Regions from separate parts of the Homo sapiens genome. Here all the other regions are linked to region 6. Evidence: promoter capture Hi-C in human tissues and cell types (Jung and others, 2019). All regions are on one chromosome and are shown on one strand. Each heading gives the region's core, a stretch centred on a gene start or on the middle of the fragment in contact. The rest is flanking DNA. Distances are from core to core; before and after follow the strand shown. Region 1 has its middle 52 kb from the start of NFIB-AS1. Region 2 has its middle 46 kb from the start of TRH-GTG1-6. Region 3 holds the start of CER1 (cerberus 1, DAN family BMP antagonist). Region 4 has its middle 13 kb from the start of TRH-GTG1-6. Region 5 has its middle 120 kb from the start of TRH-GTG1-6. Region 6 holds the start of MPDZ (multiple PDZ domain crumbs cell polarity complex component). Region 7 has its middle 6.9 kb from the start of TRH-GTG1-6.

What was found. The method cuts DNA at HindIII sites, captures the fragments that hold promoters and counts their contacts. A contact is called where the count stands out against the background at its distance.
Region 1: a contact is called between a fragment that was not itself captured here and the fragment with the promoter of MPDZ in region 6, in 1 of the 25 tissues and cell types used here (dorsolateral prefrontal cortex).
Region 2: a contact is called between a fragment that was not itself captured here and the fragment with the promoter of MPDZ in region 6, in 3 of the 25 tissues and cell types used here (H1 embryonic stem cells, dorsolateral prefrontal cortex and hippocampus).
Region 3: a contact is called between the fragment with the promoter of CER1 here and the fragment with the promoter of MPDZ in region 6, in 1 of the 25 tissues and cell types used here (H1 embryonic stem cells).
Region 4: a contact is called between a fragment that was not itself captured here and the fragment with the promoter of MPDZ in region 6, in 2 of the 25 tissues and cell types used here (dorsolateral prefrontal cortex and heart left ventricle).
Region 5: a contact is called between a fragment that was not itself captured here and the fragment with the promoter of MPDZ in region 6, in 1 of the 25 tissues and cell types used here (mesenchymal stem cells).
Region 7: a contact is called between a fragment that was not itself captured here and the fragment with the promoter of MPDZ in region 6, in 3 of the 25 tissues and cell types used here (H1 embryonic stem cells, adrenal gland and mesenchymal stem cells).

Annotation. Positions count from the first base shown.
Region 1 is chr9:14,367,306-14,371,477 of GRCh38, forward strand. It overlaps a transcript of NFIB not described here. Among named protein-coding and RNA genes, the nearest start is that of NFIB-AS1, 52 kb to the left of the region's middle. The HindIII fragment of the contact is 3,365 bases long and covers 662-4,026 here.
Region 2 is chr9:14,386,444-14,390,047 of GRCh38, forward strand. It overlaps a transcript of NFIB not described here. Among named protein-coding and RNA genes, the nearest start is that of TRH-GTG1-6, 46 kb to the right of the region's middle. The HindIII fragment of the contact is 5,319 bases long and covers 1-3,604 here.
Region 3 is chr9:14,721,454-14,725,070 of GRCh38, forward strand. CER1 (cerberus 1, DAN family BMP antagonist) reads right to left here and starts at 1,280. Exons shown (of 2, transcript NM_005454.3): 1 at 713-1,280. The coding sequence starts at 1,219. RefSeq lists enhancers at 428-1,367, 1,368-2,305. The HindIII fragment of the contact is 6,126 bases long and covers 139-3,617 here.
Region 4 is chr9:14,418,592-14,422,542 of GRCh38, forward strand. It overlaps a transcript of NFIB not described here. Among named protein-coding and RNA genes, the nearest start is that of TRH-GTG1-6, 13 kb to the right of the region's middle. The HindIII fragment of the contact is 4,997 bases long and covers 1-3,951 here.
Region 5 is chr9:14,547,530-14,551,560 of GRCh38, forward strand. No RefSeq gene overlaps it. Among named protein-coding and RNA genes, the nearest start is that of TRH-GTG1-6, 120 kb to the left of the region's middle. RefSeq lists an enhancer at 1-113. The HindIII fragment of the contact is 3,154 bases long and covers 1-2,842 here.
Region 6 is chr9:13,278,073-13,282,183 of GRCh38, forward strand. MPDZ (multiple PDZ domain crumbs cell polarity complex component) reads right to left here and starts at 1,620. Exons shown (of 47, transcript NM_001378778.1): 1 at 1,328-1,620. RefSeq lists enhancers at 1-527, 528-1,243. The HindIII fragment of the contact is 5,465 bases long and covers 1-3,204 here.
Region 7 is chr9:14,439,019-14,442,775 of GRCh38, forward strand. It overlaps a transcript of NFIB not described here. Among named protein-coding and RNA genes, the nearest start is that of TRH-GTG1-6, 6.9 kb to the left of the region's middle. The HindIII fragment of the contact is 4,948 bases long and covers 1-3,757 here.

The sequences.
Region 1 (4,172 bases), core at 1,094-3,593, 1.1 Mb after region 6:
AAATATGGAAAGGCTAGGAAAGGCTTTTCAGATGAGATGTCTCTTGAGCTGTGTGTTTCAAGATGAGTAGGGGTTCATCAGGTGATCCTGGGGAAGACATGCCAAGCAGAGGGACTAGTAAGTGCAGAGGGATCAGAGGTGTGAAACAGAAGGGCACATCTGAGATCTAAGAAGTTGTGAATTGGGAATGAGGGTCAAAAGGTTGTAAGCAACCTGTGTTCCTCCATGAATATGGGTGTGTATTTTCGTTGATAGGGAAATGCTGAGGGGGTTTAAGCCTTAGAGCAATTGATACATGAGAGGGCAAAGACTTGGAAGCAACCCAAATGCCCATCAATGATAGACTGGATAAAGAAAATGTGGCACATATACACCATGGAATACTATGCAGCCATAAAAAAGAATGAGTTCATGTCCTTTGCAGGGACATGGATGAAGCTGGAAACCATCATTCTCAGCAGACTAACACAGGAACAGAAAACCAAACACCGCACGTTCTCACTCATAAGAGGGAGTTGAACAATGGGAACACATGGACACACGGAGGGGAACATCACACACCGGGGCCTGTCAGGGGGTGAGGGGCTAAGGGAGGGATAGCATTAGGAGAAATACCTAATGTAGATGACAGGTTGATGGGTGCAGCAAACCTCCATGGCACGTGTATACCTATGTAACAAACCTGCACGTTCTGCACATGTATCCCAGGTACCAAACATGGCACATGTACACTTATGTACACCTATGTACACCATGGCACATGTACCAAACTTGGGACATGTATACCTATGTACAAAACCTGCACGTTCTGCACATGTATCTTACGTGTAAAGTAAGTAAAGTAAGATTAAAAAAAAAAAAAAGAGAGACAGAGGGAAACAAGTGGCTGGATGCTGTCCTGAGAGAAATGAAGAGAGCTTGAACTAGGCCAATGTTGAGGGAATGAAGAGGAAGATTTAAGATGACAGCCAAGAAGCAGACATAAAGAGGTAGTAATATGGTAAAGATTTCCACCCCAGAATGACTTTAAGTAGTTTGTATTTCATTATTTATGAGTAAAAATTACTCCTGAAATGCTTTTAAAAGTTGTTTACTTACTAATAAATATTTTTCTGCACTTACTTCCAAAAATGATGTGAGGTAGGAAAAGAACTCTGTAGCTACGGACAGGGCCACCGTGTTTCACCAGGCAGACTGGTTACGGTGCAACTGCACACACAACTCCTTGGAGTGGTACAGAGTGGCAGCCTTGGCCATCTTGAACTGATAAGCATTTCTCGACCATTATCTTTGGTTCAGTCATCTGAATAACATTTAAAGAGATTTATACCAGTGCTATCTTGACTAACTTCAGTTTTGATTATCTTCATGTTAATATGCCATATTATCTCAATTTAACTGGCATCTTCTTTGGATGATGTCTTCTACTCCATTCCCTCATATTTTGGTGCTTTCAGAGAGAGAAGGTGCTTATGTCTGCATAGCTCATTTAGTTTGACAAAGGAAAGGAGATGTAGTATAGCATTTTGGGAGTCAGATGACCCTTATTGTTCCCGTGAACTTGTGCAAGGTACCTGAGCTCAGTTTTCCCAACTATATAGGGACAATATCAATGCCTACCTCACAGGTTTGGTGTAAAAATTAAATGAACCAAGAATAGAAAGTGATTGGCACATATAGTAAGTGACAGGTTTTTGGTACTGTGTATCATGCACTGTGCCTGATACATAATATCTCATTGCAATCTAGTAGTTTTACAGAAAAGGAAATTTAAGCTCTTTGAGGGTAGGGTTTATTTATCATTATATTCCCAGACCCCAGAATAATGTCTGCCTCAAAGCAGCTAAGCGAGGTTAAACAGTAACTCGTCCAAGGTCAAACAGCTAGCTAGTAGTATGACGATCAGCGTTCAGACTTGTGTCTGCATCATTTCAAGCACAGTGATTTCCCAATCTTATTGTATTAAAGAAGATGATGTGGAAGCTGGTCGAAGGGCTGTTCTGTGCCTTCTTTTACTACCAGTTTTCAAATTATCTAATTATCATCGGGTTAGGCTTCTCAGGATAATTAGTTTCCATCTGTATCATTAAAAGTCATTTGCAGAGTATTTCCACAGGGGTCCATCTCATAGCCAACAGTTCTTCCTTCTGGAGCCATGGTTCCATGTTGTTGATGCCTTCTGGGTAGATCTACCTACCAGAGTCTTCAGAAGGTGCTTCAGCTTTAACATCTCCAAGCCAGAACTCCTCAATCAGCCCCACCTCTCCCTTCCCCACACACACCCTCCCAAAGCTCTGCTTTCCCTCATGTCTTGATAGATGGCATTTCCATATATCTGGCACTCAAGTTAGAGATTTTGGACCCAACTTCTACTCCTTCTTTTCTCCTAATTAGTCACCACGTTTTATTGTTTCTACCTCAAAAAAGGTTTTCAAATCTAGCTTTTCCTTTTCATCACAGCTTCTACTCCTTAATTCAGTACTTCACCATCTTTGGCCTGATATATTTGGACAGCTTCCTAATTGACCTTCTTACTTTCAGTCCCTTCCATCACCAGCCCACTGTAGGTAAAATTAGACTCTCATAACCTAGAGCAGATCAGACATTCTCCATCTCTGAAAACTTTGGGGGCTATCTCTTTACCCCCAGGGTAAGACAAGGTTATGTCCTACTGTGTATGACTATACTTAAAACCAATCCCAGGCAGCTTTTCCTGTCACTCACCTTGTATGTTCTTGGCTTTAGCTATTTTGAACCATTCGCCATCTCCAAACACCCAGTACATTTTACGACTTTGTGCCTCCCTTCAAGCAGCTTTCTCTGCCTAGAATAACCTTCACCTCCTTACTGGCTCATTCCTGAAAGCCTAGCTCAATATCACATCCTGGGTGAAGCTTTTCCACTCTTACCCCCATCGGACTCAAGGACAATTAATGGCTCCCTCTTCGCATTTATCATAGCACTTCCAATATTTTTATCAAAGTTAGTTATTTGTATATTAATGGTCTATGGAGCCATAAGGTCAAGGACTACTTAATTCATTGATGTAACCCCAACCCCAACACAAGGGTAGTTAACTGTTTTTTTTAGTCAAGAAAAAATTGTACATTGGCTTTTTAAAAATTAAAGGAATAAGAGTGTAAATGATAAGAGGAAGCCAAATCACGTAGAAGGTGGGATAATAACAGATGTTTGAGAATGCTGGTCTAGCCCACAGTGTAAATATGTGTTAAATTTGTGAACATATCTACTTTATAAACACTTGACTTCACTGTAGGCACAACCTGGTTCCATAACAAAGGTAAGAAATAACCATGTAAAGAACAGATTCATCTCAGGATCACACGACACTGGAACTCCATAAAAATCAGATCCCTCCTAATAGTGAGGTTCCTTCAGACTTGGAGACTTTCTTACCCTGTTATGGGTCACCTTTGCCATAGGGCTTTTTTGACCCCTGCTCTTCTGGAAATGCTATCAATTTCTTTGTTTAAATGCTAATGTCCAGGCTGGGCACAGTGGCTCATGCCTGTAATTCCAGCAGTTTGGGAGGCCGAGGCGGGTGGATCACTTGAGGTCGGGAGTTCAAGACCAGCCTGGCCAACGTGGCGAAACCCCATCTCTACAAAAAATACAAAAATTAGCCGGGCATGATGGTGGGCACCTGTAATCCCAGCTATTCAGGAGGCTGAGGCAGGAGAATCACTTGAACCCAGGAAGCAGAGGTTGCAGTGAGCTGAGATTGTGCCACTGCACTCCAGCCTGGGTGATAGAGCGAGACCCTGTCTCAAAAAAACCAAACCAAAACAAAACAAACAAACAAACAAACAAACAAAAACACACACACACCAACTATATGTCCAACCTGCCAGAGGACCAACCTTTTCTTATAGCTATGCAAGGCCTCAGTCATCTCTGGAACTTTTCATATCTTTTCCATCATTATATGTTAGCTTTGGACATGAGGTTTTACTTTTATGTTGTAGGAGAAAACACTAGTATAAAGAACTGTAATACTAAAAATAATCTAAGTTCCTTCTTCTTAGGGTAGGCAGTCTAGAAATCCTTGTTGAAGCGTTTTCAGTGGTATTATAGGATTTGTTTTGAAGAAGGTCAGATCTCACTGGCTGGGGAGTCAGGGGCTATAGGATCTCATTCTGGTTCTGCCACTA
Region 2 (3,604 bases), core at 105-2,604, 1.1 Mb after region 6:
AGTGACACACCCTTCTGAAGAGCACTATCTTACGCTACAGGACCCAAGAATTGATCATAATACCAAGCACCACAATAATTCCCACATTATTTAAGAGATGCTCATAAAGGGGGGAGAAATATTTTTATCATGCATTCTCACAGAGGAACTCATGAGAGCCTCTTAGGGGACAAAATCAATCAGTGTTATTATTTCTGCTTTAAGCCAGTGGAATCTCTTTACTATATGCCAGTGTTTAAAGTTCAGTATGATGAATGTTAGTGCTTCTATTTTTATATATTTATTAGATTGTATAGACAAAGTACCAGCCCAGGGGAAGACAGCCTTGGAGACTGGAGGGGAATATTTTTAAATGTAGAAATTCTCAAAGTCCATTCCATAGAATATCAGCTCCTTGGTGTGTTATTAGGTGCTCCATAGCAAAGGAGGGTTCCACAGACAAATATGTTTAGAAAATGCTCATTAAAGGAAAGTCGGTTGCATTTTTAATTGCAAGACTTAACAGAACTTTTAATATCACACTGTAAACTCTGAAATTTTAAGAGGAGAAAAAATGTAAAATGAAACTGACCACAGAATGCTTTTCAAGGACTAGGGTTCCACACAGCAAACTTTGGGAAATGGTGTGAGATTCTGACAGCTTTGGCACTAAAAAGGTGTATGACTTGGGGTTAGGTGACTAACTGTTCATCACTGTGTGTCAGTTTAATCAGGTAATTAAGTAACCAACATCAACAAATTATTTTTTATACTGGCTTTTGCCAGTAACTATTAGAAGCAGATATAGAAGACCTGTGAAATCTTGGGTTCAGACGAGTGTTCTTTTCAATCTTGCTGTACTGCTTTAGAGTAGCAAGCACGGTGACATCATTTGGTACTAAAATATTATTACTATGCAACCATGAGCCTCACATTTCTCCACTTGAAACATAACTAAAAATTAAAAGCTTTTGAGAAAAGTGATTCTAAAATAAAGTTAAATGTAAGCCAGGTATTGGAGTAAAATATTTGCAATGCATATAACCTACACAATATTAGCATCCAGAATACATACAGTCATTAAAAATCAGTGAGAAGAAGAAACAAACAACTCAATGGAAAAATGAGCAAAGGATAGAAATTGAGGATTCATAAGCTATAAACATATGCCAGTAAACATATGAAAAGACTTTCTAACTTATTAGGAAAATGCAAATTAAGACAAGATATCATTTCACATCTATCAGACCAGCAAAAAATTTTCCAGTCTGACAAGGTAGGCATGGGGATTGGTACAATAATTCTTAGAATATTTTAGCAATACTTACAGAGTTAATTAAGTGTGCTTACTCTACGACACAGGATGGCCACTTCTAGGTTATTTCTTGGGGCAGTATTTTCCAATTTCCCCATTATGACACACATAGAGAAAGATAATACTCATAGAGCACAGTGGGGTAAGCCGAGGAGGCTGCTCATAGCAGGAGGTGCCCATTTAGGGGGCTGTGGTCACCTCAGGTCCCACTTCTTCTACCCAACTGTGAGGCACTGCTATACAGAATTGTATATAAGCTCTGCCCTAGAGAAGCTTATTTCTGTGTGCTCAAGAAGATGTACAAAAATGTGTACCACAGTATTTTTATCATACCAAAAGCCAAGCAAAACAAAATGAGAAAAACAACTTAGATGCCCATCAGTAAGGGAATGCATAAAAGTATTATAGGATACTACAGTTAATATTAATAGCTTGAATTACAAGGATGAGTTGCAAAAGCATAATGTTCAGTAAGAAAAGAAAAATGCAGCCAGGTGTGGTGGTATGCACCTGTAGTCCCAGCTACATGGAGGAGGCTGGGGTGGGAGGATTAATTGAGCCTGGGAGGTTGAGGCTGCAGTCAGCTGTGATGACGCCACAGAATGAGACCTTTTCAAAAAGAGAAAGAAAGAAGGAAGGAAGGAAGGAAGGAAGGAAGGAAGGAAGGAAGGAAGGAAGGAAGGAAGGAAGGAGAGAGAAAGAGAGAGGGAGAAAAAAGAGAGAAAGAAAAAGAGAGAGAGAGAGAGAAAGAGAGAGAGAGAGAAAGTAAGGAGGGAAGGGAGGGAGAGAGGGAAGGGAAGGAGGGAAAAATGCAAAAGAATACATGTGCTATGATACTCAGTGTACAAAACCTTAAAACCATCAAAAGTCTATATACCTACATAGTAAACATATAAAAATTATGAATGGGGAGGATATGACCAACTTCTAGATAGCAATTGCCTCTGGAAACGGAGGAGAGGCAGTGGGATTTGATAGTGGATGAGGAAGTCTAAGGATATCTGTGACATTGTATTTCTTAAAAAATAAAAATAAAACAAATGTGGCAATAAGTTTATGTGTTCAATCTAGGTAGTAAATACATAGTTTTAAAATACATTTTCACTATTTGTGTATATGACATGTCTTGTAATTAAAAAACAGGAATAACTAGATCAATGGTTTCAAGCCTGGATGTATATTAGAATTACAAGGAAGTTTTTAAAATTTTTCATGCTGGGGCTGTATCAGAGACCAATTAAATCAGAAACTTAAGGGTTGGGGCCTGGACATTGCATTGTTTAAAAGCTTCTCCAGTGATCATAGTGTGTAGCTTTGGATCAAGAACTGCAATATTAGATGATCGCAAAGGTTTCTTTCAAACAACATTTTCTGTTTCTAAACATTTTAATTGCAGTTTCCTCATATGGCTTCATGTGAACACAATTGTGTGTAACATGAAGTTAGGCCCTGTTAATATTCACTGAGAACTTTCCTTCTGTCACAACCACTTATCTTTTCCTGGTGCTCATGATTCTTTTGTTTTCTAGAATCACATGTTTCTCCTCTCCCATTTAAGTTGTTGTTCATCCCTCCCCCTTTCTCCTCCCACCTTTCTGAGTCCATCCCAACAAGCAATTCATCCAAGCACCACAAATTTAAGCTCTGAGTCATTCATATGCATTGCTTTTGAACATATTAAATAGATCCATATGCTTATCTATACTAAGATATAGATTTTTCCTTCAGAAAATAGAATACAAAAAAATCATTCCAATGTGTACACTTTAAATATTTTAAGCAGGCATCTAAAACGAAGCAGAAATTAAAGTAACTTGGACCAGAATTTTGAACATTAAAACATTACAGCAAATTGGTAAAACATAAACCAAATATATAGATGTCTACTTTATATCCAAAAAAGTTACTCTTTCCCTGCCATACACACAGACAACTCTCATAATGGGTCCTCCTCAATTAGAGTTGGATCACAAGCAGAACAGTAATCAGTGTGGCCTTTCCCAGCATTTCCACCCCCAAAGACTCTTTATTATCCTTCCCAACTTCAGAAATTTCTATGACATCATCATCAACCAATCAGAGCTTCTAATGGTTTGAAATAACTGATGTAGCCAGACACATTGAGTTGATATAGAATCAAAGAAATGTGACATTCTCCTTAGTCTGGGCAGTTGTGTCATGGATAAACATATGATTTCCATTAGATTTCTCAAAACACGGAAAAATCGCTTTCAGACCTTAGCACTACCTCTGAAGATACTTATTTTAGATTAGAACTACTAACTAAAGTGCCATTGTCTTAAACCCTAC
Region 3 (3,617 bases), core at 30-2,529, 1.4 Mb after region 6:
GGAGATATGATCTCACATCAAGATTGATTTTTTAAAAAGCTCATATGAGAAAATAAGTGAAAGAAAATCACTTTTTTGCTATCATAATACTAGAAATGATATGACAACTTTTGCCTGAGAACCTCAACGTACTTTGAGGTTGTGGGATAGCTTTAGCAAGCTATTAAAGAAGTCCCTCATAAACCTATAAAGTAATTAAGTATGGACTATGGGGATTAAGACCATCGTAAATGGATATGAGAGTATTTGGGAAGGAGTCCAATGCACCCCACTTTATCAACAAATGGAGTTGACCTGCTCATCCACATATTAATAGAGTGCAGAAAGATAGCTACAGAGGAGTTCTGGTGATTACTCTAAATTCTCAGTTTCCTAACTGAGGGTACAGTCTGACTTATATCTCTGAGTAGATCACCTCCAATGCAAAAATAAATAAATAAAACAGAGCTCTGTGTCTTCAGTGTGAATGAATGATTACTGATATTGACAGTATCATCATATCATTCTTGCAGCATTTCCACAATGCCAAGAAAAAATGGAAAGGCCAGAAGGAAACTTAATCTTTGCCAAATCCTATGATGAATGCCCAAGGACCAAATCTGTAGTTAAGCTAGAGTCAGGCTCCTGACAGCCTTTTCCCCTACTCTCCATCCATCCCAGCTGTCCACTACCACCTGCAAACTCTTACCTGCTCTCCCCCCAGAACACATACCTGGCTGAAGGGCACTGTCCTGCAGGTCTCCCAATGTACTTCATGGCTTTTGATGGGCAAGATGACCCCCTGAGAAGCCGGAGTTTTTCTGAACATGAAGTGGTGCCAGAATTTCTTGGCTTCTTCCCGAAGAGGAGATTTCTCCATTTTCATTCCATCTATCGGCTGGATGAGGGACTGGGTCCCAGGTGGGAAGGGCTCACTATCTGAGTCCCTGGATGGATGCATTTCTCTCTCAGGCTTCTTCCAGAACCTGCCAAATCTGGACAGCATCTTCTCTCTCTGCCTCTGGCCTTCCCCTGCAGGGCTGGTGGCTACAAGGTGTGGCACTGCGACAAACAGATCTGGCTTCTCCTCAGCTTCCTCATGGTTGCCTGTGGGAAGCTCTCTTTGATTCCTTGGCAGGAGTACGGGGGAAAGAGAACTCTGATTCTGGCGGCCATCCTGGTGCCGTGTGGTCTTTCCTAGAGGCAGGAGTACCAGCAGCTGAAATAAGAGGAGATGCATGCTGTCAGGGGCCCAAGCTTCTTTTGTAAATGATGAGGCCCAAAGGAGAGGCTCATTCTCTGCAGGACTGGGAAAAAGGAAATCGTATATATAGATACCTGCCTGGCGGGATGGGAAGGCAGGTGGTCAGTAGCCAGGCAGAATAAACACATTTATTGTTTGCTTGAATTATGTAGTGCTAATGGCCTCCTGCCGTCACTTTGGTTTTGTGTATTTTAAAAGGCCCCAGTGAAAGCCTGGGACCCAGGGGGTAATTAGCTAAGAGTTTAGCTATGTCTGGGGCTTAAAGAGCAGTATTAGCAAAGACAACACATTCTTTGCCTAAATTTCCCATGGCTGTTTTCAGAAGAAGGACTAGAGTCAGCTCACATTTGCTGTGCATCTGCCTTGTGCTGGAATAGAATAGACAAGACATGTTGCTGTAAGAGAAGTTTTTGGATAAAAATTAAAGGCATACATTTAGAAAAAGCCCAGGCCTTTAGGAAGGCTATTCACACACACACACACACACACACACACACACACACACACACACACACGAAGAAGTATATCAAAGTTGTAAGGAGAAGAAAGGAAGAGCTAGAAGGATGTTAATTTTTTTGAGCAAGGGACATATTGTTTCTTACTTACATGCAAATTGGGGTTATTGATTTTTGCACAGTAACTGAGTAAAGGGAATATGTTTTCCTTTCCACACGTAGAAACTCACAATTCCCAAGTTAATCCTCTCACATTAAGAATCAATTAATGGGTGCTAAATTTCACAACTGGTCAGTCATCAGATAAACTCTTCCAATTGTTCACATGTTCCTCAACAGGATACCACGTAATAGACTGACAGCTCATCAGTCTTCAATGAGGATAGGGAAATGTCTCCCTCCAGCCATCCTATTGATTTTTTTTTCCCTTTGAACAAAGAGCCAGACATGAGAACGTGGATTCTAAGAACCAGGTTTGATAACTTTGTGTGTGACGCTGGCTAGTCAGTTTCTTACCTTATTGAATCCACATCATCTCCCCTTGTTTTACACTAATTGATGGCCAGGCTAAATAAAGATTGACACAAATAAGAGTCTTCGGGGATCAAAGGAAAAATTGAAAAATAACTATCATTCAAAACTATCATGAATCAGCCTAGGATACGAAAAAGAAACACGTCCAGAAAACTGAAACCCCAGAATAGAGTCCGATCAGCCTACCACATGATTCAAACAGTATTTCCACTGGGAAGCAATGCAATATCTGCTTTTATTTCTCCCCTTTTAATTCAATCACTATATTCCTTGCTTTCAATAACACAAATAGTCCTGGAACATGTTCCCCCTTTTTTGTCAATACTGATTAAACTTTCTTTCCAAGAAGTGACCCACTGGAGTCTGTTTTCCAGGCATTTCTGTTCTTCTTGATAGCCATGCCTGATTTCTATGAAATAAAGCCTTAAGTAAGTCCCTTTACCCATGATAATGAGCTATTTTTAACATGGACCATCACTTTACCAGAATGCCATGAGTGGAGATATATTGTACTTGTACCAAATATCTATGGAACGTGTGCTAGTATTAATGAAAGGTGCTGTTGATATATAATAAATAAGCATGTGTATTTGCCATTGTTTTTTTTTATTTTAGGAAAAGGGTTCTGCTCTGTTGCCCAGTCTGGAGTGCAGTGGTGCAATCATAGCACTCTGTAACCTCAAACTCCTAGGCTCAAGCAAGCCTCCTGAGTAGCTGGGACTACAGGCACACTACCACACCTGGCTATTTAAAATTTTGTGTTGTTGTTGAAACAGAGCCTCACTCTGTTGCCCAAGCTGCTCTGAAACTCTTAGCCTTGAGCCACCATCTTGCCTCTGCCTCCCAAAGTGCTGGGATTACAGGCGTGAGCCACCATGCTATGTCAACATCTTTTTTTTTTTAATTGACTGCTACTTGAATTTCTTAATTCCCCTCAGCCATCCAATGCTATACGCTTTCCAGAGCTAGTCACTAGGCCTCCTGGTATAATATGGTGTGGAAGCCAGCTGTGATACCTTTCCTGAATCCTTTTAACTGTTACTTTTCAGTAACTGAAATTCCATTGTTATCAATCAGAGTATCTACTATTTCCCAAAACTAAAGACAATCTCAGAAATTCTATCTCGGGTCTCAGTTTGCTTGGCTCTGGAATTACTGAACATGAGATACAGTTGAGATAATTCCTGTTGAACTGCAATGTGTAGAAGACTCACTTTGTGTGTTAAGAATCATATTAGATACTGGTAGATAATTGAAAAATGAGTAAAACTTTGTCCCTGCCCTCAAGTAGGTTAGATAGTCTAGTGGGATTTCTTATGCATCATCTAACTTTATTGTATAAAATCATCTATAGGGATGTCAGTTATCCATTTTTCACTTTCCTT
Region 4 (3,951 bases), core at 937-3,436, 1.1 Mb after region 6:
GTGAGCCCTGTGTCTCTACATACTGGACTTGAATTTTTGCAAGACCCTATTAGGGTCCCCAGGAGAGCTCTCATATGAAGTCCAAGAAATCTGAGGAAAACGTGCAGCTTACATGATGGACTAATTTCATTTCAATAAAATTCCCATATTACATTCAATGTGCCTGGCTTTATTAAGTTTTGTCATAAACGCTGGGAACACTTCCAAATTTAGGCTTGCACAATTATTTTTATTGGTGCGTTAACTAAAAATGGTATATGCATAAGTCAGAGTGTACATTTGACTTCATCTGGGGAGCTAAAATGAGCTTTAGGTTGATTTATAGTCATTTTACCCCAGTAAATGAGATACAGGAAATAGGGGTTAGAGTTTCTGATCACAGCATTTCTAAATCCATCCCAGTTCCATCCACGGCTCTGCCATGTATCTAATGAATTTAAATTCCAAATGTCTATCGGCAACCTGCAAAGTCACCAAACAAAGAGGCTGGCTTACTTTCAGACCCAGAGCCATCCAAACTGGGCAAAAAAATAGAGGTTTGTTGCACTAAAGTGGGACTGGGGAGCTCTCGGTGCTTTGAAAGGTTTTAATTGCTATGGAAAAAATCCTTTCAAAGATTTTTTTCCCTCAACATGGGCCCCTTGGAAACTTTTCATAGGGGAACTGTAAAATATTTATACAGCTAGCAGCACTGTTAAAAAAAAAAAAAAAAGCAAGAAAGAAAGAAGCATAGCACTGAATGAAAAGCAGACTTGAAGTGAGCCTTGCAGATTCAGGGGACCAGGGAGGGGAGGTTGCTGTGATTCCAACCCCTGGAAACAGGATTAATCCCTACCAACCATGCCCACAGACAGGGCCCACTTCACCGGCATGTGACCTGGCACTTAGAAGCGTCCTGCGTCTAGTTGAATGCTCTGCTGTAGCCATTTTGAAATTTTTGATTTTTGAACAAGAGACCCCGTGTTTTAATTTTGCAACGAGCCCTGTTACGTTACGTAGCCTTGCATGTTACGTAGCTGGCCCAGCTCACAGAACTTCCCCAGGACCGCTGTCTTCAGACATTTCAGTATGGTCCTCCCACCCCTTCCTCCCTGTTGGCTTTTCTTTTGCTTTCTTTTTCTGGAGGTATCCACAACACCGACCCTTTGACAGTCCTCAGTGGCATCTGCTCCACTTCCCATCGGTATGTCTGGCTGGCATACACACTGCCCACGCAGCTTTGTCACCCCAGGACATATGAGGCGAACAATCCATATTCAAAACCCTAGAAAACATGAACCTGAGCTTGTGAATAGACCAAAAAGTATAGAATTTTGTAGTTTAAAGGAACTACAACATTCTTGTTTTGTAGAGTAAATTAGTCCTGGAGAGAGGAAGGAAATTTCCCAAGGCTACTTCATTTATTAATATCAGGTTGGGGACAGGACCTGATATACATGCTGCTAGCTCACTCTGCAGGCTCTATAAAAAGGGTTAAGATGAACAAGTATAGTCCCCAAACTGTCCCCAAACTCATGTGAACTCTGGCTTCAGTCTTTTCTCAACACTTCAATCAACAATGACGTTATTAAAGAGCCGGGCGTGCTGGCACACGCCTGCAATCCCAGCACTTTGGGAGGCCGAGAAGGGCAGATCACTTGAGGTCAGGAGTTTGAGACCAGCCTGGCCAATATGGCGAAACCTCATCTCTACTAAAAATACAAAAATTAGTGGGCTTGGTGGTGTGCGCTTGCAATCCCAGCTTCTTGGGAGGCTGAGAGGGGAGGATCACTTGAACCCGGGAGGTGGAGGTTCCGGTGAACTAAGATCACACCACTGTACTCCAGCCTGGGCAACAGAGCGAGACTCCGTCTCAAAAAAAAAAAAAAAAAAAAAAAAAGATGCTATCAAAGAAAGGCTGGAAAGATAATCATTTTCTCCACACCAACCCCCCAAATATTTTCATTCCTCCCACTCCTTATCTTTTACTGATGAAGATATTTGGTAGCAAAAACAACAGATGTAAATTGCATGACCTCTTCATGGCTCTAGCCTACCACTGATGCTGTCAACCTGGTAACCCTGTAGAAAGGAAGAGAAGAATCCAAGGGCCCAGAAAACCCGCAAAGTGGATAATTAACACCAGAGAAATCAAGATTTGGCCACTTCATCATAGCTAAAATACTAAGGGGCAGGATGAGACACAGTCCCGAAACTTCCTACCAGGGGAAATGGGTTGCAGAATTACTACTATCTCGTCAATCAGGAGGGAACCTCTTGTCTCAAGGCTGACTTAATTGCCATAATTCAATTAACATGCTTCCACTAATTATATAAGCTTTTAGATGACAGTTCAACAGTAGCACCACTGAGAGTAAGCCATTTTTTTTTTCGTTTTTAAACTTAGTCTTAGTTAATTATAAGTAAATTGCATTGGTTTCTTTTTCACATCCTGCCTTCAACTATTTTGTTACAAAATAATATCACATAATTTAAGAGCTCTGGATCTTTGGCAAAAAAAAAAAAAATAAGGCATGTATACCATGTGCAAAACTGTAGCATTCATAAAGAGACAAGCCCCTTCTTTTCTTTCTTCCTTCCTGTTTTTCTTCCTTCATTTCTTTCTAGATGCCAATTCTTATGAAATATTAAATGAGATAAATAACAATCATATTAATTGAAATGAACATCTATTTTATAAATTCTCAGATCTAGAACAATGTCTGGCTCAATACAGATTTGTTAAATAATTATAAATGTTAATTATTGGATGAGATACTTTGGGGCATGGTAGAGAAAGTCTGAGGAGGGCTAAAAGCCCTAAGATCTAATTTAACAGAGTGTATATGTTCTTTCATAAGATAAGATGTAAAAGCAGGAACACAACAAATCAGTCAAAAACTACCTGGAATTTGAAGATACTGAAGAGGAATGCAGAGTATACATCATGAAAATGGTAAATCAGATTAACTCTTCCATTGAGAAAGATAAGAAGATGGGTTTTCAATGTCAGTTATCTTATCTACATACAAATGAAAGTTGACAAATGTAAATTACTTGCTACAAACCAATGGACAGAGGATCCATCACAGTTGGATACATTTCGACAAAGCAAAGGATGCCACACTAGAATTGGCCCAGTGCTAATTTGCATAACAGCAAAGATTCATTTTGATACACCTTTATAGAGTTCATTTTCAATGAAAGTGCATATTCTTTGTACCAAAGCATACCCAATTCTTCTATATTTTCATGATTTATGATTGAGCAGAAATCTACAGGTATGTCAGAAATTTTAATAGATATTCAGGACTCCAAAGATAATTCATGAGAGCAGAATTAGAATTGCTACTTTTTTTTTCCTTGAGGGCTATTTTTTTCACTTTTCTACCTAGCACTTCATTTTACTCAGACCAAAAGTTTCTCTTATGTATTTTGATGAGGCCACAGGAAGTATGAAGAGTACAGAAAAAGTAATTATATTCCCACTAATATAATCATATAAACAGGCTAGTGTTAGCTCAGTTAGTGAGAAAAAGACATTTTAAAGTGGAAGCAGCCACCATGCTATGTAGGGTTAACATGACAAAGGAGACTCCGACCCAGGAAGATGAGAATAACAACTCCCCATCTTCAGGTCTCAGACTGTCAGATCCTTATGGAAACTTTCCTGCCTTTTCCCCAGATGTTAGGCCTCTGGTTATTGGCCACTTTTACTTGTAGAACACTGATCAGTTGAAATTCATTAATTATTAGCAGTCCATGAATGCTTGTTCTTCCAAAAGGCCTGAATGTCCCTGGAGTCCATGTTTGCTCACCATAATGTTTCTGGCCTGGTGCTTCTCTGCCTGCTCTAAGTATTCTTATGGAGTCAGGAAAAGAAAGTAAGGCTCCTTTCTCATTCTGCCAAAGCCCCCGTATTAGCTGGAACTCTTTCAATTGCACGTGATAAGCATCTAGCTTAAATTACTT
Region 5 (4,031 bases), core at 16-2,515, 1.3 Mb after region 6:
GGATTCTTTCTCTATCACATGGCCAGGTTGTGAAGTTTCCAAATGTTTACGCTCTGCTTCCCTTTTAACTATGAGTTCCAACATTAAGTCCTTTGCTCCCAAATCTGAATGTAAGTCGTTAGAAGCAGCCACCCCACCTCCTGAATGCATTTCTGCTTGGAAATTTCTTCCAACAGACACTCTAAATCATCACTCCTAAGTTCAACCTTCCACAAATCCCTCAGGCATGGACACAATGCGCCAGGTTCTTTGCTAAGGAATAACAAGGGTGACCTTTGCTTCAGTTCCCAATGACTTCCTCATTTCCATCTGAGACCTTGGTAGCCTGGTCTTCACCATTCATGTTTCTAAAAGCATTTTAGAATGCTTCACAACCACTTAACCAGGCTCTGAGAGGCTCCAAACTTTCCCTTGTCTTCCTGTCTCCTGAGCCCTCCAAACTCTTCCAACCTCTGCCTGTAACCCAGCTCCAAAGCTGTTTCCACATTTTCAGGTATCTTTGTAGCAATGCCCCACTCCTTGGCACCAATTTTCTGAGTCAGTTTTGAGTTGCTAAAAGGAATACCTGAGACTGGGTAATTTATAAAGAAAAGTGGTTTATTTGGCTCATGATTCTGCAGGCTGTATAAGTATGGCACCAGCATCCGCTCAGCTTCTGATGAACCCTCAGGAAGCTTTTACTCATGGTGGAAAGTGAAGAGGGTGCAGGTATGTCACACAGCGAGAGAGGGAACAAGAAAGAGAGATGGAGCAAGACAGAAAGAGGGAGAAATATAGACAAGAGGACGAGGTGCCAGGCCCCTTTAGAGAACCAGCTCTCACATCAACTACCGGAGCAAGAACTCACTCATTGCCATGGGAGGACACCAAGTCATTCACGAGGGATCTGTCCCCATAACCCAAACACCTCCCACTAGGCCCGCCTTCAACACTGGCGGATGTATTTCAACATGAGATTTGGAGGGGACACACATCCAAACTTTATCACCGTTGTATGAATTTAACCAACCTATATGTCTTTCTGGTAAACATATAGGTGGATTGTTGATTGGAAATTACAAATAATGCCTTATCAATTAGCTTTCACCGTGTAATAAACAACCTCACAATTTCTCGACTTACAAGAACAACATTTCTTTTTTTTTTTTTAGTTCATTATTCTGTGAAGCAACTAGGGGTCCTCTCTCCATGTGGTTTCTCATCCATAGTGGTCCAGCCTGGACTTCTTCACCAGTGGTCTCAGAGGCTTGGACAGCAAGCTCCAATGTGCAAGTGCTTGTTAAGCCTTAGCTTCTAATATACTTAGTAATGTCTTTTTGCCCAACCCAAGTCATCTGTCCAACCCAGAGTCAAAGGCTGAAGAATAGACTCCATTGCTTGGTGAGAATCTGCAACGTCACATTACAAGAAATATAACATAAAAGCATGAAGGAATTTTTGACATTTGGCAATCTTCCACAAATGCTATGCTAAATATCCTTTCAACTACTACTGTGCACACTTACCTGATTATTCATATGAGATAAACTTCTGGAAGATAAATTGTTCAGTAAAAAGTGTGACTATTTTAAGCTATGGATTTCTACTACCACAATTGGAATTTATACTCTCATCAACTAGTCTTTGAGTGATAAGAACTCAGTGCCTGGCATAATGTATAGTTTATTACACTATAAATATTGGTTAAATGAATCAATGAATGAATGAATGAAAACCGCATACAGAAATCAAAAAAATGAGAACAAATCGGTAGCCTGACTAATACTGATATTACCATGCTTTAAATATTTGCTCATTAACAGCTAAAAATAGAACCTTATTTTAATTCCTACTTTTTGCATTACTAATAGTGGTTATGTTCAATGGCTATGTGGTATTCTACTTTACTGAATTTGAATTGAGCAAATATCATTTGGTCTGTTTCTGGGTTCTCTGTATTTTGTTTCAGTCATTTTGTCTATTGGGCCTTAAAACTATCATATCTAACTTATTCTTTTCATGACTACAATACTCCAATGCATGGAAGTATCCTAATTTACTTAACTGATGTCTTTTTTATGGATAGATATATATTCCTAGTCCTTTGATATTAAAAGAAAGCTGAAATGATCATCCTTTATATGGCCTTTACATAGATGTCTTTGCTGTCAAGTGAAGGTATATCTTTAGGATAAGATATACCTGGTATGATAATTACTGGAAAAATAGTATGTTCATTTAAAATATTGATATTTGTTGCATAAATGCCTTCCAAAGAAGTTGTAGCAATTCTCACTTTTTTTTTTTTAATCAGTGGGTAAACGTGCATGCTTCCCTAAACTCTTACTAAAGCAACATATCCAAGCTTATCTGATGTGGAAAATGGCAAATCACTTTTTCAAATTTGTATTCCCATTTGAATTATAATAAACATCTTTTTATTAAGCTTATAAGCTACATTTCTTTCTTTCTCTTGGCAAACTGATTCAAATTTTTTGTTCTTTTTTTTATTGGGTTGTTGTTTTTTTTCCTTAATTTTAATAGCTCCTTATATCTTAAGGACATTAGTTTTAACATTTTCTGTTTATGTTATCCATGGTACTTCTCTGCAGAAGTGTTTCATTTTGATACAGTCCTATTTATTTACTATTTCTTTATTGTTTCTGGCCCTTGAGTCTTTATTCTAAAGGCCTTGCCACTCCACTCTCATAAAAAATTATCGCTCATATTTTTATTTGGTACTTTTATTTAGTTACTTACTAACTTACTTTAAGTTTACATTCTTGAGCTCTCAGGAACTTATTTTGGCATGAGGAGCAAAGTCTTAAGTTTCTTTTTTCCAGAGGGCTAGCCAATGCCCTCATATAATTTTTTAAAAAATTACATCAATTCTCCAGTGATTTGGAATACACTTTTATCATATAGCAAATTCACATATGCATTTGGCTCTATTTTTGAATTGTATTTTGTTCCATTCATCTGTCTGTCTACTCTAGCAACAGTACCAACCATTTAAAATTAGTTTTGAGAATACATTTTAATACTAGAGGTACCAATCCTCTTTAATTACTCTTCTTTCTTTTTTAAAATACTTTTTTGGGTATTCTCACATATGTATCTTTGATACACACTTTGGAATCAATTTATCTACTTTTGCAAAGAGTACATTAAATTTATAGATTTTGAGACAACAGTTTTACACTTTGAGTTTTCATATTTAGAACTACGCATGTCTCTCCAATTATTCAAATTTATTTTATGTCTTATGTAAAGTTTTAAGCTTTCCTTCACTCAAATTTTATAAGTTCTTGTTAATTTTATTTCTAAGTATTTTATTTTAAAAGTTATATGTAAGATTCACGATTCCATTACATTTTCTGAATAACGTGTACTTACAAGAATGCTCTATCATTTAAAAATCAATTCTCTTACCAGATACCTTACAGAATTCTCATTATGTCATCTGTAAAGAAGTAATTTGTCTTTACATTTCCAATTTTATGTCTGACTTTTATACTTAGGGAAAAAAGGTGCTCCCAACTTAAATAAATATATGGAACTAAAACAGACTTTCCTGTATGTATAATATGTATTATGTATTTGTATAATACATAATACATTGCCTCTCTTTTAAGTTGTGGCAAAATACACATAACATAAAATTTAACATCCTAACCATTATTTAGTGTACAGTTCAGTGGAATTAAGTACATTCACATCGTTGTGCTACCATCACCACCATCCACTCTTTCCATCTTGTTAAACTAAAACTCTACTCATTAAAAAATAACTCCCCATTCTTCCCTCTCCCCAGTTGTCAACCACCATTGTTTCTATGAATCTGACTACCCTAGGTACTTGCACATAAGCAGAATCATACAATATTTGTTCATTTGTGATGGGCTAATATATTGTCTCTTAATAGAATACAGAGATATTGGGGAAAAAGCATTCTACAATTCATGTTAACATTCACTATTTCTTAATTTTTCAACATGATCAACTGCTCATTGTTTCAGAAGTTAAATAATTTTTATTTTATAACCAAAACA
Region 6 (4,111 bases), core at 370-2,869:
GTAACCTAAACCAGGAATTTCTAGGGAAACACGAAGGGGATGTTTACATCAAACTGTCTACAAGGCAGGACGAGGCAGTCTGATCACTTATCAGATTCCTTCTCTATGACATCAAGGAACATGGAGAAGTTTTCCTTCTACGCTGGTGAAGTCATGGTCCTCTTATCTATCTGATGATACCTAGGAAACACTAGCCTCCAACCGCAGCCCCTACTGCAAAAAGGCAGTCAGTGCCCATTGCCGGGGTCTTCCCAAGCGGAGCACCTCAAAAGCCGCACCGCGCAGTAGAGGTCTCCAGGGGCCCCCACTCGCCCCCAGTGACTACGGAGCGGCCTCTACCTCCCGCCGGCGCCTGGCCACTTCTCCTCCCCCGCAGTCTCCGCTTGATTTCCATGTGACTGCAGGCAAGAATAGCCCAGCCTTTGTGCCTCTGCAAAGAACGCAAACAAAAATGTACACCATCACCACCCAACAAACGCGCAACTCCGCAAGACACAAAGCGTCTCCCAAACATCGCTTCCCTGGTAACATCCGGCATCCTGGGGCTGCCAAATCGCAGACAAAGACGCCCATCAGCGCGGGGGGTGAGGAGACTAAGGGAGAGACAAGACCAACGTGCTCCCACCAACGGGAGCGGCGGTTAAAAGGGCGCCGGTGCCAGGGGTGAGGGACGGGGCACCGGTACCAATTAGCGGCTCGCCTCGGGGTCCCCGCGGCTAAGGCGAGAACGCAGGACCAGGAGCATTGCTGCCCACTCTCTACCGCAACCCGCACATCCCGGGACCACGTAACGGCGGATGGGGCGTCCGGGAGCGGCCCCTGCAGGGGAGAGCAACAGGCTCCCGCGCCCTGGAGGCCTGGTCTGCGCTCCGGGCCCCCAGGCTAACACCCCACCCCCAGCCCCCCGACACCAAGACTGTGCCCCTCTGGGTCAAGGAAAAGGAAAAACTTTTAAACCTCTTAGTCAGCGAGAGCAAAAGAAAGGGGTGGCGGGGGTGCTGAAAGGTCTAGGATTATCCACCGCGGGGCTGGGGGGAGTGGAGACTTGCGAGTAGCAAAGGAAACTTCTAGACCCCATCCTTTTAAAAAAGCCACAGCAGCGGCTTCCGCGAAGCGCCGGGCCGCGCGGGGTGGGGCAAGCGCACCGCCCCACCGCCCCACGGCCCGCCGCCACCCCTACCCCCACCCCCACCCCCACCCCCATCCCCGCCCCCACCCCCACCCCCAAGCGCCGAGCCCAGGGCGCCCGCGCACCTTCCCCGCCGGCGCGCGCGCAGGGCGCGGGGGCGCGCCTCGGCCTCTGGGCCGGGGCTCAAGCGCCGCTTACCCGGCTCGCGGCGCCCGCCCAGGGCCGCGACGCGAGGGGGCGGAGGACTGGGGAGCAGGGGTCGCCGGGGCCTCTGGATGCCTCGCCTCGCCCACGCTCACTGTCTTCTCTTCTGAAGTAACGACCCGGCGAGGAGCTTCGGATCAAAACGCACAGACACTCACGCGTGACTGAGAAACTTAATCCCGCGGTGGCCCGACGCCAGCCTAGCGCTCCGCCGCGCCCCCTCCCCCAGCGCGCGCCGCACTTGCGCCGACCGGGGCTGCCGCGGAGGCGGTGGCGGGGCCCAGGCTGCTGGGGCTGCCGTGACGCCTGCGACCGGCGGGGCGGCGGGCGCGCCTTGGCCAATCAGGGGACGCGGCCGAGCAGGCCTGTGCGGGGTTTTAAACTCGCTCCTGGGCCGCTCGACCTGGGGTGTGGGTAGTGGACTTGTGAGGTGGTCAGATAAAATATAGGCTGCTCTGTTAAATGGGAATTTCAAATAAAAAAAAAAAGGAATAATTTTAGTACAAGTATATCCCATGCAATATTTGGGACGTACTTATGCTAAAAAGTTCTTCGTTGTTTATCGGAAATTCAAATTTAATGGCAGTCTTGTATTTTTATCTGCCGATTTTGTCAACCTGCGGAAACTGATAGCCTGTTTCTAGCTCCTCAGATTTTCCTTATGTGCACTGCCCTGTGGATGCTTTCTGCATGGGTAGCTTACTGAATGGCATAGGATGCTTATGAGAAGCGCTTTAATCAGAAGGGTGGGGGCAGTCCTCTCACTTTCTAAGTAACTTTTCGCACATCAGGGTGCATTCTTAGTCTGATGATCCAATTAAAAAGCAAAAACAGTAAACATGGAAAAGTTATTAGAGTTGCATGGCCCCAGGAAGAACAGATATTCATTTCTATTTTGTGCCACTTAAGATTTTCTTTCTGTTATCCTCAATTTGGAAGTCCCACGAATTTTTTTCTGCATAAGAAACTCTTTTTCAAAATATCCCTCTGATATTAGATTATAGGACCAAAGGATACTCAGAAGTCCAATTTAGAACATTTAAAAGAATTTCTTTTAATATTCTGAATAAAAATACTTTTTTCTCATATTCCTTGGACTTTCAAACACATTCACAGCTGTTGACCTCTCTCTTCCTAGAGTCCTCCCCACCCCACCCCTCTTGTAATTCCATGCAATCACACTCTTGGTTTTGCTTCTTCCGCTTAGTCAAGGGCGGATGTATGGGCTCTGAAGCTTGTACAATTGGGAGCTCTGCTTTAACCAAAAAAAAAAAAAAAATCTTTCTTTAGAAAAATTCAAAAAATAAATGCCCATGTAAACACATTGCTAGGGTTGCTCCCAGGCAAGAGAAGGACCCGGAACGTTAAGCTACATCAATTTCCAGGTAGATCTGCCCCTGTCCCCAGGCCACTCTTCAGTCTTCTTTGCCTCCTCTCCCCCAATCTTTAGATGCTGGAATTCCTTAAAAATCAGTTACGGGCCCTCTTTTCCTTTTAACTCTTACCTCTAAATACATTTTCACTTCTAGCTTATGATCTCGTACCTACAGAATCTTACATTTATACCTTCAGATTTATCCATATATTCAAGTGTTTATTTGGCTTCCCTGTTTGCTTGTCTCAAACCTAGATTGCAAAAAAAAATGCAGCCGTGATACTTCTGCTCAAGCCTGGTCATCTTGTTCAGTGTCCCAGTGAATGGAACTGCCATAGATGCTACATGATTCCCACAAACTACGATAAACCCATTGTGATGCATTCTTATGGTACCCTATGCTTTTGCTTCATAATATTTTTCCTACTTTGTAAATATGCATTTGATTTTGTAATTATGCAATGTCTCTTCCCTCTTCAACCATAAACTCCATGAGAACAGGGGCTAAGTCACCATTTTATCCTCAGAGCCTAGTAAAAACTTCACACTTGGTTGGCACTCATATGAAATAGGATGAATATACGACTGCAAGAATGAATAATTTCTCCATATAACTTTTGTGTTCTTGTCATAGAGTCACCTCAAGGCATCCCATTTGGAAAGGATTTTCTTATTGCTTAGAAATTCCAAAGGGATCCTCCTGTTTGAATAGCACTTCTACTTGTCAGTTTTCAAATCTGGTCATTCTCAAATACAAAGGAAGTACGTGCATGAAATGTTAGCTGCTGGGGTAGTGTAGGAGGAAAAGAATTTCATAACTAGCTACTGAAGGAATTCTTTGAGTCCTAAAATTTTAAATGGCATTTTTTATATTGAACCATAGGGAAAGAGCCCATAAAACTGAATTAGAGGAAAGTTTTAGAAATTTAATTCCCTGGTTTATTGTGGATAAATGAGATTAAAACAAATAATTTTACCTTGGTTTAAAAGGTGCTATTGTTCTAGTCTCCTTTAGCGAAGCAAAGCCCACATGCCCTCTTTAAACAGCAGTATATCAGAGGATAAAAAGGCATCTGGTTTAGATTAGTCCTTGCATAAAATTATCCAGAGTTTGGGGATAATTCCACCCTGAAGCTTCTCCTTTTGAAGTTAATCCGTATAGCTATTGCTCTATTCTCTTTAACTTGTTCTAATCCAGAAAACCTAAGATTTTCTAGAAATCCACCGGGGATATAGTGCACTAGTTTAAAAAAAAATACCTAAAATAAAAGTTAAAAACATTAAAGTTGAAATAAAATCTTGCAGAGAAAGACAAAGTGTAAAGCAGATAGAGTAGAGGTGCTCTACTCTATGGGATGGCTTGAAACCCCATACGTAAATAGATTAATAATGCTTTCTATTTC
Region 7 (3,757 bases), core at 676-3,175, 1.2 Mb after region 6:
GCATTCTGGATTTATGGCCAACAGGGTTCTAACCAATCCCTGTGGAGCTACTTTTTGTTAAGAAGTTTCAGGCTCGGCGTTGTGGCTCGTGCCTAAAATCCCAGCACTTTGGGAGGCCGAGACAAGAGGATCATTTGAGGCCAGGAGTTTGAGAACAGCTTGGGCAACAAAGTGAAATCCCCTCTCTACAAAAAATAAAAAGATAGCCAGGCATGGTAGCACAGGCCTGTAGTCCCAGATACTTGGGAGGCTGAGGTGGGAGGATCCCTTGAGCCCAGGAGGTCAAGGCTATAGTGAGCAGAGCTCACACCACTGCACTCCAGCCTGGGTGACAGAACGAGGCACAGGCTACTTGAAGGTCTGGGGCTGATAGCCTTGGACAAATGATTTAATCTTTCTGTGTTTAAATTTCCTTCCTAAAAAGGGGATAATAATAATACCTGCGTTATAGGGCTATTGTGAGGATTGAATAAACATACAATGTGCTTAGAAGAGTGTCTGGTACTTAGTAAGTGCTTAATAAATATTAGCTATACTTTGGCCACCCCAGATGTGGGAGTGAGCTTCCCTGAGCCTCAGGCCAGAAAGAGGGGGTGCCAGGAGAGCTGGCACATGCTGAGCCCCAGAAGTGGCCTGAGGTTGAGGGACTGGGCTCTGTTTATGAGAAGTGGTCAGGGCCAAGGGGTGAGTTGGACACCAGATGGGCCAGAGTGCCTCAGGGTCCGGACAGGTGGTTCCAATTCCAGAGATAGGGACATGATAGGGGCATGTGAGGAAAACAAGTAGAGAGGCAAAAACACGGTGTAAGGGTTGAAAACACCCCCGAGGCGGAAGCCGTTTGCCCCAGTTTTGGGTTGGCACATTGCCTTTTCTGCCCTATATGAACCAATATCTCAGTCAATTTCGTCAGGAGCTAAGTAGGCAGGGCAGGAGAAGAACTTTGGGGTGGGAATTGGAAGGAGAGGGGGTGGCTGAGCCACATGGGAGCTGGAAGTCCTTCCTCAAAGCCCTCCTCTGTAGAACGATCCAGGCATTTGGCTCACCAGGTGGACCTACTTTTTGTCTAGATTTGTTCTTATAGTGGTGACAATGAGCTTGCTCTGAAAATGGCTGAGCCCTCACATGCATGAGGCACCTGGTGTGAGCTGGGGTGGGGCTGGGGCAGTCTACCGCCACAGAGCTCTGCAAGGGGCCAGCTGTGTCTTCCTCATCTTGTCTCCCACATGCTTCACCTTAGCACCTAGGACAGAGCACACGCTGACTAGATTGAAATATTGAATTGGCCTGGGTGTGATCCAGAATCCCTGAAGTGCGGTCTAATTTTAGAGCTGCAGAAGGAGCTGATACCAATCGAAGGGCTCTTTAATTGGCCTATTTTTTTTATGGTTAGGTGTTTTGTTATTGGTGATTTTAATTTTGCCTCTTCTGAAGTACATTTCACAAATATACTTGTTGAATTACACAGGGTCTATGTCCAATTTCAACCTTCTCAATGAATGTCAAAAATCACTAGAGCCACAATCTCTCCTGATTAAAGCGGGGCTATGAAATAAACAAGCACATCACTGATCAGAAAGAGACTGCTGTCCAACTGATCAGACCTTGATAATCTTGTGATTCAAAAATACATGAAAATACTATTTGCATCCCCTGATAACAATGCCTCAGTCACTTGAGAGTGAGAGAGAAACCAGGGAACTGGATAATGCAATGAAATGAATAGAGAATTAACACTACATTACGTGTTCATGTTTCATTCTGCTTTGTTCATGATGAAGTTTATAATCTGGGAACATTCATTTATCCCCCTTTGCCTCATTGACTTTAAAAAGAATAATAAACCTGCTCTTTTTCTACTACACAAAGGTATTAAGAGAAAAATGTGAAATATGCAGAACAGTTTGAAAGGTGTTGTGTAGAACATACAACTGCAATTTTTCTTACTATTATCATCATTATGACAGCCATTCCTGATATGGAAGATAGATATTAGGTTTATAAGATGAAGCCAGATTTTTACCCTAGGTAGCCCTAGAACTATAAAGATATCTTGGATAAAAAAACCTGGACCCTTGACAGCTTTCCCTTAATTATCATCAATTCTTTGAGTGGGTTCAAAAAAAAAAAAAAAAAAGGAGAGAGAAAACAAAAAAAAAAATCGGACGGAAAACCAGCCTAATTGAATGTAGGATAAACTATTCATTAGCAAGCTAAATAGCTACGACATTTAATAACCTGTAGTGCCTCATGGAAAACCAAGACATTGCCAAAAGTAATTGAAGTTTGTGATTCTCCAAACTGTTATTTAAAGCAGGATTTGGCAAGGCTCAGTGGGTCTGCGCCGATTTTAATTGCATTTTTAAAATTCAGGATGGAGATTTCGTTTCTTTTCTCATTATTTGTGTAGTGAAGTCCCTTTATGGTGAACGTGCTTATAGTGAAACCTTATGCGGTGATTTTTAAAGTTCAAAGCATGTGGGATCCATCTATATCAAAACCCATACTTTATGTTCTGACCTTTTAACTGATTAATTCCCAGTTGCATATAGCCCAGAATTCTTTCTTTTTCTTCTTCCTCTTTTTTTTTTTCCTGCCTGTCATCTAACAAGGCAGTCTCAACCCTTATTACTATGACAAGCAGCTTCCTGGGGGGTCAAGATGGGCTTGACCTCAGGAGAGGGCCTCCTCCAGTGGTGAGTGAATGGGCCGTGGAAGAGAATCACCAAGTGGCCATGTCTGCCTATGGAATAAGCAGTAGTTGCTATCCATCCCTAGCCATAGACACCCAGAGACCATTAAATATATACAATGCATTTATTACAGACCCTTTGTACAGTACACTTACGAGAGGCAACTATGATTGTATTACCCTCAAGGGCTTATTACAAGGGCTTCTCTGCTCCCTTGTAATTTCCCATGAATGATTGTTTTAAAATAGCTACCATTTGTTGAGCACATAGTAATACGGCAGGCACTGTGCTAAACACTTCACAGGAATTAGGTCATTTCATCCTCAGGAGAACCTTCGGTATGATTTTCTTCATCATACCAAGGTGCAGAGTTGGTGAAGGAGCTTGCTCAGGATCACACAGGCAGAGCTGCCAGGGCTGGGACTGGAGCCTAGGAGGCTAACTCTGGGTCCACCTCGCTTAATCACCACCCTCTCCTAATCACCACCCTCTCCTACAATGCTGGTTAGTGTGCTGGGCCCCATGTGTGAAATTTTCTGATATTCTCCCCACTAAAATTTCTGTCTCCTGTGTCTTATCACACAGGAACATGCATCTCTGATTGCTTTAGTTTCCCACCTTGTAAAAGAGGTTACCTAATAATATCTTCCACAAGGGGTCGTTGAGAGGATCAAATGAGCAAGAGCAAAAAATGCATTTGACAAAATGTCCAGTAAAACACGGCCATGTATTAGTCCGCTAGGGCCGCCATAACAAAGCACTACCACTGGGTGGCTTCAACAGCAGAGACCGATCGCCTCACAGTTCTAGAGGCTACAAGGAGCTAGCAGGGCTGGTTCCTTCTGAGGGCTGGGAGGGAAAATCTGTCCCAGGCCTCTCCCCAAGCTGCAGGTTTGCTGGTAATCTTTGGCGGTCCCTGGCTTGGCATCACTCTAATCTCTGTCTTCATCTTTGCGTGTGTGTGTCTGTCTCCGTGTCAGACTTTGCCTTTTGATAGGACACTAGTTCTATAAAACTTGATTATCTCTGTAAAGACTCTCTGAATAAGGTCACATTCTGAGGATCTG